Regions from separate parts of the Homo sapiens genome. Here region 2 is linked to region 1. The links are contacts of gene promoters, found by promoter capture Hi-C in human tissues and cell types (Jung and others, 2019). All regions are on one chromosome and are shown on one strand. The core of a region is centred on a gene start or on the middle of the fragment in contact, and the rest is flanking DNA. Distances in the headings are between cores, read along the strand shown.

Region 1 (5,261 bases), core at 715-3,214:
CAGCCGTCACACACGTGCGGCATGCTGGTCATCACACACGTTCATCAGGGCACACACATGCCAATGCTGCACACACCATGCCAACCCCCCTGGTTACCCGGGCACACATGTCAACCCACAGCCTTCACACGTGCTCACGTGGGCGACATGCAGCTATGACCACACAGCCCTCAAAAGCATCAACTCAGAAAACATTTCCAGGGTACCTACTGGGTGTCAGGCAACACCCCACCTGTGTGTGGGGCACTAATATCCCCACCTCATCATGGACAACAGTGCAACCTGCACCCGGGTGCTCATCTGCGGAGCTGCACACACGCCCCTAACACACACATGTGGCGGACACGGACACACACCCAACAGCAGTTCAGCCTCTCAGCTTGGTCAGGATTAGAAGGAGAGGCCCTGGGGAAGAAGAGGGGTGCTGATGGAGAAGGGAGATAGAAGGGGTGGGATGGAGTAGAGAGGGGTACTGAGGAGGCAGGATGGGGCGGGCGGTCAGGCAGTGGTGGGTGCAGGATGCGCTGCGCAGAGACACCCTTTAAGGAAACAGCCATCGGCCTCAATCATCAGGCTGGCTCCTGAGCTCCCACTCATTGATCTCTGATCAATCTGGTTTGGCAGCTCAGAAACCCCAGTGCTCCCTTCCAACACCCCTGTTATAAGCAGCGGCCTGGCCAGGCTGGGGAGTAACCGCCCAGGTTCTAGGGGCAGCAAGAATCGAGAATTGCCAGGGTAAGCCTCAAGCCCCCTTGACCACACAAATGGCACCCACCCCCCACCACCACAGACACATACGCTCAACTCAGCTAAGTGCATGGGGGGCAGAGATCAGGAGGCCCCCACAGCTCAGCCTAGGTGAAGGCTCAGGGACAGCAGACAAAGGATGCAGGGGAACTTCCTCCCCCCAAGCCCCTCCCAAGGGAATGAGGTGGGCTGAGGGCTGAGTTAGCAGTGGGTTAGGGTGACCAATGGGGCATGCAGGGGCCAAGAAAGGCTATGGAGTTTAAGGAAGAAGGGGAAACTGGCGGACCAACCACACACAACTCTGGCCCCCCGCACCAGGGAGGCCAGGAGCCACAGCCCCGGCCACCGGGACCGCGGCGCTTTGACTGTGCTGGCTGCAAGGACTGGGGGCTGGTGTATGCGCCTCCACGCCTGAGTGTGTGCGTGTGAGAGCGTGTGTGGCGGGGACAGAGGAGGACACTGTGTTCTGGACGTGGGCAGAGGCCAGGTGCCAAGCTGGGAGATTGTGAGTGGCTGTTTAGGGCAGATGCTACCGGGAAGAGGTATCTTAAACGTTCCCCGCACCCCCCATTTCCTGGGCACTGGGATAGGCTCAAAACCCTCTAATCTTCGAATCCTCAAAGTCAGGCTCCCTGGGGTTGATCCAAACCCCCAGCCCTGCTCCGGGCCCAGGCAACCAGCAAACTTCCCCCACCCGGAGGCGTGGGGTGTCTACACTCGCCAGCCCCGCGGGCTGACAGCTGCTCCTGGACTTGGCAGAACCCAGGCTTCCGGGAGAGCGCGCGGGGAAGCTGCGCAGCAGCAAGAAGAGCCCCCCGCGTCCCGCCTCGCAAAGTTTGGCCTCGGGGGGCTCCCAGCCGGGTCTGGCAGCGCTGGTCAGGGACCCCCAGAGCAGCGAGCGTTCGCGCGCACGGTCCCCCGCAAGCCTCCCCAGAGCGCGCGCGGCGTGACTCACCCGAGCCGCGGAGCCAAGCGGCGAGGACTATGCCCAGGAGCGCTGGCCACAGGCCGGGCCGGACGGCCATGGCCGCGGGCGGGCAGGCGGGCGGGCCGGGCGCGGGGCCCCGCGGGCGGGAGGGCGGCTTTAGCGCCTCAGCCCGGAGCCCCAGCTCGGGGCGCCCCCGGGGCCCATGCCAGCGGACTGCGCTGCCTCCGGGCGGCCGGCTGCCGGGCGCACGCGGCGCGTGGCTCCCTTGGGCACGGGAGCGCAGCAATGCAGCCGGGGCGGAGCGCAGCGCCAGCCGCGCCGCGCACCGAGCCAGCCGCGCCGCGGAGCCCGCAGCCGGAGAGCGGGCCGGTGGGCGCCGCAAAACCCGGACTGGAGCGACGGAGCGGGGCGGCGGCTGGGAGGGGCGGGGGAAGGAAGGAGGGGCCGGGCCGCCCCGCGCAGCGCGCGCGGGCCACCCCCAGCACCGGGAATCCCTCTGGGCGATGCCTGAGGCTCCCCCAGGGAGGGGCTTGGGGTGGTGGGCGTGGAGGCCTCCCACCGCCCCGCGGGGTCTCCAGGGACAGGGGCAGGAGTCTGAAACCCGGAGTGGATCGGTGCTCCGGATCCGGGCTCTCGCGGGCCCGCCAGTCTGCGCACAGGTGGCCCGGGAGGGGCCCGGGGCTGCGGCGACCCCGGCGCGGCGCCAGCCTGCGGAGAGCCGCCCAGGGCAGGGGTGCCCCGGGCAGGTTCCGCTGCAGTCCTCTCCCCCGCCCTTTCCTCGCGGCCGCGCTCCGGGGTCGTCCGGGCGCCGCGGTACGCTGCCAGCCCGCGGCTTGGTTAGGGGACTGCGGGAGAGCCCCGGGGCCCTGGCCCGCGCGCAGAGGTGCCCTGGCCACCAGAGCTGGCAGGCCAGACTCGGGGACACCCGCAGTCCCAGCCTCGCAGGCTGGTGGATTCCAGGGGCGCGCCTCACACCATGACCCAAGGTTTCCCTAACCCCTCGGCGCCGTTCGCCGAAGGAAAACAACCTTCAGGCGCAGCACACCCGACTGGGCGCGCGGTGTTTGAGCCCCGAGAGCGCACGGCGCCCGCGACGTGGGTGTAAAGGAACGAGCTGGGCTTTGGCAGCTAGGGAGACCGGGGGTAGGGTCCAGGCGACTTCACCTTCCAGCTCTGTGACCTTGGTCAAGTCACGTCGTCTCCTGGAGCCTCCAGCAGTGACCGCTGCTGGAGTCTCCTGTGCCCCACCCCCATTCCCTAATCGGGTTAAAATAAACAGAGGGCTGCCTTGAAGGAGAAAGGAAATGACAGCCGCGTGCGGTGTGCCTGGGGGGAGTGATCGGAAAAAGAGAGGGTCCTAGTCTGGGTCGGGAGGGGAATGAGCAGGGTGAGGGCAGGGTCGCAAACTCAAACGCCTACGGGGCCGGTCGATAATATAAATTGGCGCTGCAGGCTAGGCGATGTAAGGGATGGTCTTGCTTCCACAAAGAGATATGAGCTCTCCTATATTTCTTGAGACACGAGGCCCTCTCTCGGTCTGTCTTTTGTTTCCCACTTTTGATAGAGAAGGGTTATGAAAAATGTTTTGCTTTCCTCTTAAGTCTACTATAAAAAACACCAGCTAAAGCTCCAGAGGCAACCATACAGACGCTGGGCTCCATCGCCAGGGAGGCAAAGGGCAGTGCTGGGGACAGGCACAAGGATCCCATCTCAAGGGGCAGCTGCCTTTTCTGCTCCAGGTGCTGGTTGTCGGGGGAGGGGACCGGGGCACAGTATAGCCGCATCTTCCAAATTTTCAACAGAAGCCGTCGTATGTGAAATATTCTGATTTAAAATTTTTAACTAGTAAAAAATAATTTTTTAGACTTCATGTGAGCCCAGGGGAAAGTGTTCACCACCTTCTGGTTTGGGAACTTTGCTTTCGGGGCAGTTTGAATGTACACGGTGTCAGGGCCTGATCAACTCACATGTCTCGTGTGTGTGTGTGTGTGTGTGTGTGTGTGTGTGTGTAGGAGCAGTGTGTGCCCAGGCTGCTCCTGTTGGCACCATAACACCCCTCTTCAGCCTCTGCAGGAAAGAGGTGGGTGGGAGAGGAGAGTCAGTGGCAGGATCTGCCCTTGGGGCCCACTGGGGATTGGGCACTGGAGGCTGGTGGCTGAGGATGAAGGAAGAGGATTGAGGGCTGGGGTATAAGATGACATTATAATAGTGTATGCTCTGTCTAAAGGGATGGCCGGGTGTGGTGGGTCACACCGTAATCCCAGCACTTTGGGAGGCTGAGGTGGGTGGATCGCTTGAGGTCAGGGGTTTGAGACCAGCCTGGCCAACATGGCGAAACACCATCTCTACTAAAAATACACACACACACACACACACACACACACACACACACACACACAGCCAGATGTGGTGGTGGGCACCTGTAATCCCAGATACTCAGGAGGCTGAGCCAGGGAGAATTGCTTTAACCTGGGAGGCGGACGTTGCAGTGAGCCAAGATCATGCCACTGCACTCCAGCCTGGGCGACAAAGCAAGACTCCGTCTCAAAAAAAAAAAAAAAAAAAGTATGCTGGACACCACTATGTCCTTGCATACATTTATAATTTGGCTTGATCCTCACATGCAGTCCTGTTAAAGAAACATTATTATTCCCATTATGCAGATGCAGTAGCTGAGGCGTAGGGAGAGGAAGTGCCTGATTGCTCAGGGCCAACCTTATCCAATAGACTGCAGGGTTAGCTAAGATGCATCCTTGGGAGGTTTGGTTTCAACGTCCGTGTCCTCATCTTTTCTCCTGCTACAGTTTCTACTCTGGGATTTGAATTTGGGAAATGAGGTTTGAGATACAGGAAAGGAAGGGTCTTTTCTGCTCAGTTGGCTGCTTTGTTCACTTCTCTTCTTGCCCCTCTCTCTTCAGCCAGAATGGAATGGTCTATGTAAGAGTCAGGATAGATTAGGGGATGTCGTAACAAATAGTCCCCAAATCTCAGTGACTTAAATCAACAAAGGTTTGTTTCTCATTTGTCCATCATGGGTCTATGACTCCAGGTCACCCTCACTTGAGGACCCAGCCTGACAGCAGCCATTCCAGAGGTGCACCCACCAGCCATCAATCGCTCAGCCCAGACACAATGGATCATGTCTGGTCACAATCCATTGGCCAGAACTGGCCCCACAGTCCCACCCAAGAGGGCCAGGAAGTATAATCCCACCTCGTGCCTGGAAGGCAGAGCTGAAATATGTGGAGAGTAGCATGAGTGCCTGCACAGCCTGTGGTCCCAGCAGAATCTGGCCCCTGCCTTCCTCTTCAACTCTGCCTAGGCCCTAGCCATAAGGCCCCTCAACCCCTCACTTTGTTTCTCCAGCATCCAAGCTCATCCCACCTCCAGGCCTTCCCATTTGCCTTTCTTCCTAGAATACTCTGTCCCCAGATCTTCACGTGGCTGGTTCCTTTTAGTCACCCGGGCCTCAGCTGAACTGTTCCCTTCCAAGTGATGCTCAGAGTCATGTCAGGAGAAGGAGGAGGGGTGCCCTTGTAGAGAGGGGGAGTAGGTGTCTCACTGGAACTCTTCTTAAGAATCCAGG
Region 2 (5,261 bases), core at 971-3,470, 34 kb after region 1:
AGCAGAAGCCTCATTGCCAAGGTTGTTTCCTGCAAGATGAAGGGGTTAAATTTCTTAACTAAGCCAGAGGCTGACAAACATCTTCTATAAAGGACAGGATAGTCTAGGCAAGGTGGCTCACACCTGTAATCCCAGCACTTTGGGAGGCTGAGGCAGGCAGATCACCTGAGGTCGGGAGTTTGAGACCAGCCTGATCAACATGGTGAAACCTCATCTCTACTAAAAATACAAAATTAGCTGGGCGTGGTGGTACATGCCTGTAATCCCAGCTACTTGGGAGGCTGAGGCAGGAGAATTGCTTGAACCCGGGAGGCGGAGGTTGTGGTGAGCTGAGATCGCACCATTGCACTCCAGCCTGGGCAACAAGCGTGAAACTCCGTCTCAAAAAAAAAAAAAAAAAAAAAAGACAGGATAATAAATATTTTAGGTTTTGCAGTCTCTGCTGAACCTTCTCACTGCCACTGTGGAGTGCAGGTGTAGTCAGTATGTAAGTGAGTGAGCGCGGCTCTGTTCCAATAAAACTTTATTTGTAAAAACAGGTGGTAGGCCAGATTTGGGCTGTGGGCTATAGTTTGTTGATCCTTGCTGTAAGCCCAAAATCACAGACTGGCAGCCTTCCAGCCAATTTTGTCCCACAGATTTTTGTTTTCTTTTGTATTTTTAGCCAACATTAAAAGATGAGGTGATTTCATGATTTCACATACAAATCTAGATTTCCAGGTTCTTTAGAGAGTCTGAAGCTCAGGCTTGCAATCCCACGCGGCAACAACCAGCTGGAGCCGGCTTCCACTGGGCTATGGGCTCTCCAGTTTGCCAGAGTCCCCACCGCTCCCTATTGCCACCCAGATACCATTCCCTGGCTGTGCTAATGTTCCGCTTGGTGTCCTCCCCACCCCTCACCGCATTAATTTCCCAGGGCTGCCTAGTAACAACGTACCACAAACTAGGGGGCTAAAAGACAGAAATGTGAAGTTCAGGATCTAGGCATCAGGGTTGGTTCCTTCTGAAGGCTGTGAGGGGGAGTCTGTTCCACGCCTCTGCTCTTGATTCTGGCAGCCTCAGGCATTGTTGTAGATGGTATTCTCCCTGTGGTCTGACATGATCTGCCCCTGTGTTTGTCTGTCTTGTCCAAATTCTCCTTTTTTATAGATACCAGTCACATTGTATCGGGGCCGCCTTAGTCACCTCGCCTTAACTTGATGACTTCTGGAAGGACCCTGTCTCCAAATAAGGTCACCTGCTGAGGTGCTAGGGCTTAGAACTCTAGCCTACCTTTTTTGGGGGCACAGTTCAATTCAACCTGTCACACTCACCCAGTCCCTTCACTGCCTTATATTTCCTTCCTGGATCCCACCACTAGTAGCGAGGACCCAGCCACATGTCCCCGGCACAGTCAGATCTGCCTGTCACAAAGATTTTGCAGGTGACAGCACAGAGAACATATTTGGATGGGGCAGGGCCTGGCCCCAGGAGCATGGGGTGGGGGCGGGGGCCCTGGACAGGAGGTGTCAGGGTCAGGAGGGACCGAGGAGAAGATCCTCAGGCTTGGTGCAATGTTGGACACGGGGAGAGGAAGGCGAATGCCTGGGTCTCAGGCTTGAGAGAACAGATGGACAGTTGTGCTTTTGTTTGTTTGTCTGTTTGTTTGAGACGGAGTCTCGCTCTGTTGCCCAGGCTAGAGTGCAGTGGGGTGATCTTGGCTCACTGTGACCTTTGCCTCCTGGGTTCAAGTGATTCTCCTGCCTCAGCCTCCCAAGTAGCTGGGATTACAGGCACCCACCATCAAGCGCAGCTGATTTTTGTATTTTTAGTAGAGACGCGGTTTTACCATGTTGGCCAGGCTGGCCTCGAACGCCTGACCTCAGGTGATCTGCCCACCTTGGCCTCCCAAAGTGCTAGGATTACAGGCGTGAGCCACGGTGCCCAGCCGCAGTTGTGCTATTGCTGAAGGAGCGAGCACATTTTAGTGGAGGTTTTGTACAGGGCGGAAACTGCAGACTGAGCTGGGAGAGAAGACACAAAACTGTGCTCCCAGAATTTCCACGGGGAGAGACCTGGGCCCAGGCTGACCGGAAAGAAGATGGGGGTTAGGGAAGTTCCCCAGACAGGAGGACTCAGGGCAGCCACAGAAGAGGGGGAAGGGCTGATTGGACCACCTCAGCAACACAGAGTCAGGGGTAGCTTGATTTATTGGTCTCGATTTTTTACCCCTCTCTGTATCCATACCCTTTGCAGTTTCTCCCCCGAGGAGCTGCATGTTCCCCTCGACCTTTAACTTTGGGTATAACCATAAGACACGGCCTGGCACCCCACTGGTCCAAGAAAAATGAGAAACACAATGGAGCAGAGCCAGACCCAACCGCCCTCCCAGCGCAGCCCAGGCTGGGCTGCCAACATCCAGGCAGTCTGCACACGTAGGAGTCACATACACCCGGTCCCTGACTTACGATTTTTCAACTTTACAATGATGCAAAGCCATGCATGCTCAGTAGAAACTACTCTGGCTTTTTGAGACGGAGTTGCGCTGTTGTTGCTCAGGCTGGAGTGCAGTGGTGCTATCTCGGCTCACCTCAACCTCCGCCTCCCAGGTTCAAGTGATTCTCCTGCCTCAGCCTTCCAAGTAGCTGGGATTACAGGGATGCGCCATCACACCCGGCTAATTTTTGTATTTTTAGCAGAGACGGGTTTTCTCTATGTTGGTCAGGCTGGTCTTGAACCCCCGACCTTAGGTGATCCACCCTCCTTGGCCTCCCAAAGTGCTGGGATTACAGGCGTGAGCCAAAGCGCCCAGCCCCCAATTTTCACATTTGGTATAGTGTTCAATAAATTACATGAACTATCTGACACATTATTATAAAACAGGCTTTGTTTTAGATGTTGCTGCCCAACGTAGGCTGATAGAAACCTTCTGAGCACGTTTAAGCTAGGCCAGGCTAAGCTACGATGTTTGCCAGGATAGGAGAATCAAGTGCATTTTCCACCTACGAGATTTCTAACTTTCTGTGGGTTTATCAGGATGTGACTCCATCTTACGTCAGGCACATCTACGAAGTTTATTGCCGTTTGCCTCTGAGAGTTTGTGGTTGTTTGCTACATAGCAACAGCTGACTGACACACAGCCAAATTGTACCCTTTTACAGATGAGGAAACTGAGGCCTTAGAAGGTAAGAGGCTTGCCCAGTGATTTACAAATAATAAGCAGCAGAGATCCAGGTGTCCCGATCCCTAACCCAAGAGTCTTTCTTTCTACTCCATGACAGCGACCGTCACCCAGCTTCTGGTTTGTTCGTTCATTCATTCATTCATTCATTCATTTAATAAACACGTGTTCCTGGAGAGACGTAGATGACTTGGGTTTATTCTCAGCCCTCAAAAAGCTCTGTGTGGTGTTGGTGGGAAGACGGGCCTCAAACGAACCACGAGGAATGTGGCAAGAGGTAACAGAGATGTGCTTAGGCACCAAGAAGAGTCAAGGAACCCAGCTCGAGGAAACCAGGACAGGCTTCCTGGAGGATGGGGTGTCTGAGCTGAGTCATCATGAATGAGAAGGAGCTGACCAGCAAACTGAGGAGGAGGGAGGTTGGCGTGAGTGTGGGCTGGAATTGAGGCACAGCGTGGGACTAGTGTGTGGGGCTATGGGCAGGCGGGAGCAGCCGCCAACCAAGGTCAAGTCCGCTTGAGCTGTCCCAGCCATTCAGGTGAGGCAGGGAATGACAGGAGATGGGCTGGAGAAGGGGGGCAGGGCTCACATCCAGGCCTTTATCTCTTGGAAGGAGCTCAACCCCTTTCACAGCAGGTGATTGGGGGCCCTTGGGGATGTGGCCTCGGACAAATGAACTCGTTTGCTGCGCCACAGTTTGCCCATCCCTAAAACCAGGTGCTGGACAAGCTGGCCTTCAGGGGCCCCTCCAGCCCTAAAGCCACTGTGGGGGCCTCACCAGGGGTGGGCACGCCACACAGGAGGTTATCTGTCCCGGCAGCCGATCCAGGCCCAGAGGGGAGAAGAGAAGCCCCCTCTGCCCGTGGGTGGCGACCCTTCCTTCCACCTTCGAGCAGCAGGGAACGTCTCTCTTAGCCAAAGGCTGGTCAAGAACAGGAAGAACGAGGACACATTAGACATTCGACATTAAATATAGGACTATCCAGATGGGGGAAATGACTTTCTGTTTCCCTTCCTCTTCTCCTCACGGAGGGAACATGGGGGAGGCTGGGATTAGTCATTGACGCGAGGGGGGCTGGCCAGCTCCAAAGAGCCCCGTCCTCGCACCCTGCCTCAGAGCCCAGACAGAGACCACCTGAAGGAAAAACAGGCGCCTAACACAAGAACCCCCTATTTGACAGGAGAGGGGCAAGCCAGCCAGGCTGGCAGGAAAATTCCAGGTAATTGATGTTATTTTCCCATTGACTATGTTCTGCCAGAAAAGATTTCAGTTACAGGGTGTCATCAAATCACACTGAAGAATCCTACTAAAAGACTACTTTTATAACGAGGAAAAAAAATGTACTTTTAAAGAGGAGTCTGTGGTATAACCTCCTCAGAGGGCAATTTGGCGATGCCTTTAACACCGTGAAATGCGCACACTCTGATGTGACAATTCCACTTGTGGGAACTGGCCTCGCAAGCGTGTTTGCACAGGCACGCACACACCTGTGCGGGGAAGATGCCCTTTGCAGCACTGTCTGTGGAAGCGGATGACTGGAAGCGACCCCAGCATCACCAGTGAGGCGTTCGGGGCCAATGAACAGGATACCCCATAGGCTGGAATACTATGCAAGCATTCAGAAGACCGTGGCCACTGCCTACGGGAAAGATTTCCAAGCAACAGTGTTCAACAAAAAAGAAGCAAGAGGAAGGCCTCTTTCCTTGGACACAGCCTGCTCTGTGTATGCAGAAAGCAAGGAGGACAGCTGTACAGAGACGGGCAGGAGCTCTGTTTCTTGCAGCGACCATAACAAATGACCATGCACTTGGTGGCCTCAGACAGCACAGATGTATCCTCTCTCTGGAGGTCAGAACTCTACCATCAAAGTGTCAGCAGGGCCATGCACCCTCTGAAGGCTCTACTTTCTTCTTCTTTGAGATGAAGTCTTGCTTTGTTGCCCAGGCTGGAGAGCAACGGCTTGATCTCGGCTCACTGCAACCTCCACCTCCTGTGTTCAAGAGATTCTCCTCCCTCAGCCTCCTGATATCTGGGATTACAGGCGCGTGCCACCATGCCCAGCTATTTTTTTTTTTTTTTTTTTTTTTTTGTATTTTTAGT

The links. Contacts are between HindIII fragments. The study calls those that stand out against the background at their distance.
Region 2: a contact is called between a fragment that was not itself captured here and the fragment with the promoter of UNC5A in region 1, in 3 of the 25 tissues and cell types used here (mesendoderm cells, spleen and thymus).

The regions. Positions count from the first base shown.
Region 1 is chr5:176,807,262-176,812,522 of GRCh38, reverse strand. It overlaps UNC5A (unc-5 netrin receptor A), which reads right to left and starts at 1,964. Exons shown (of 15, transcript NM_133369.3): 1 at 1,703-1,964. The coding sequence starts at 1,772. The HindIII fragment of the contact is 11,668 bases long and covers 1-5,261 here.
Region 2 is chr5:176,773,356-176,778,616 of GRCh38, reverse strand. No RefSeq gene overlaps it. Among named protein-coding and RNA genes, the nearest start is that of LINC01574, 33 kb to the right of the region's middle. The HindIII fragment of the contact is 9,372 bases long and covers 1-5,261 here.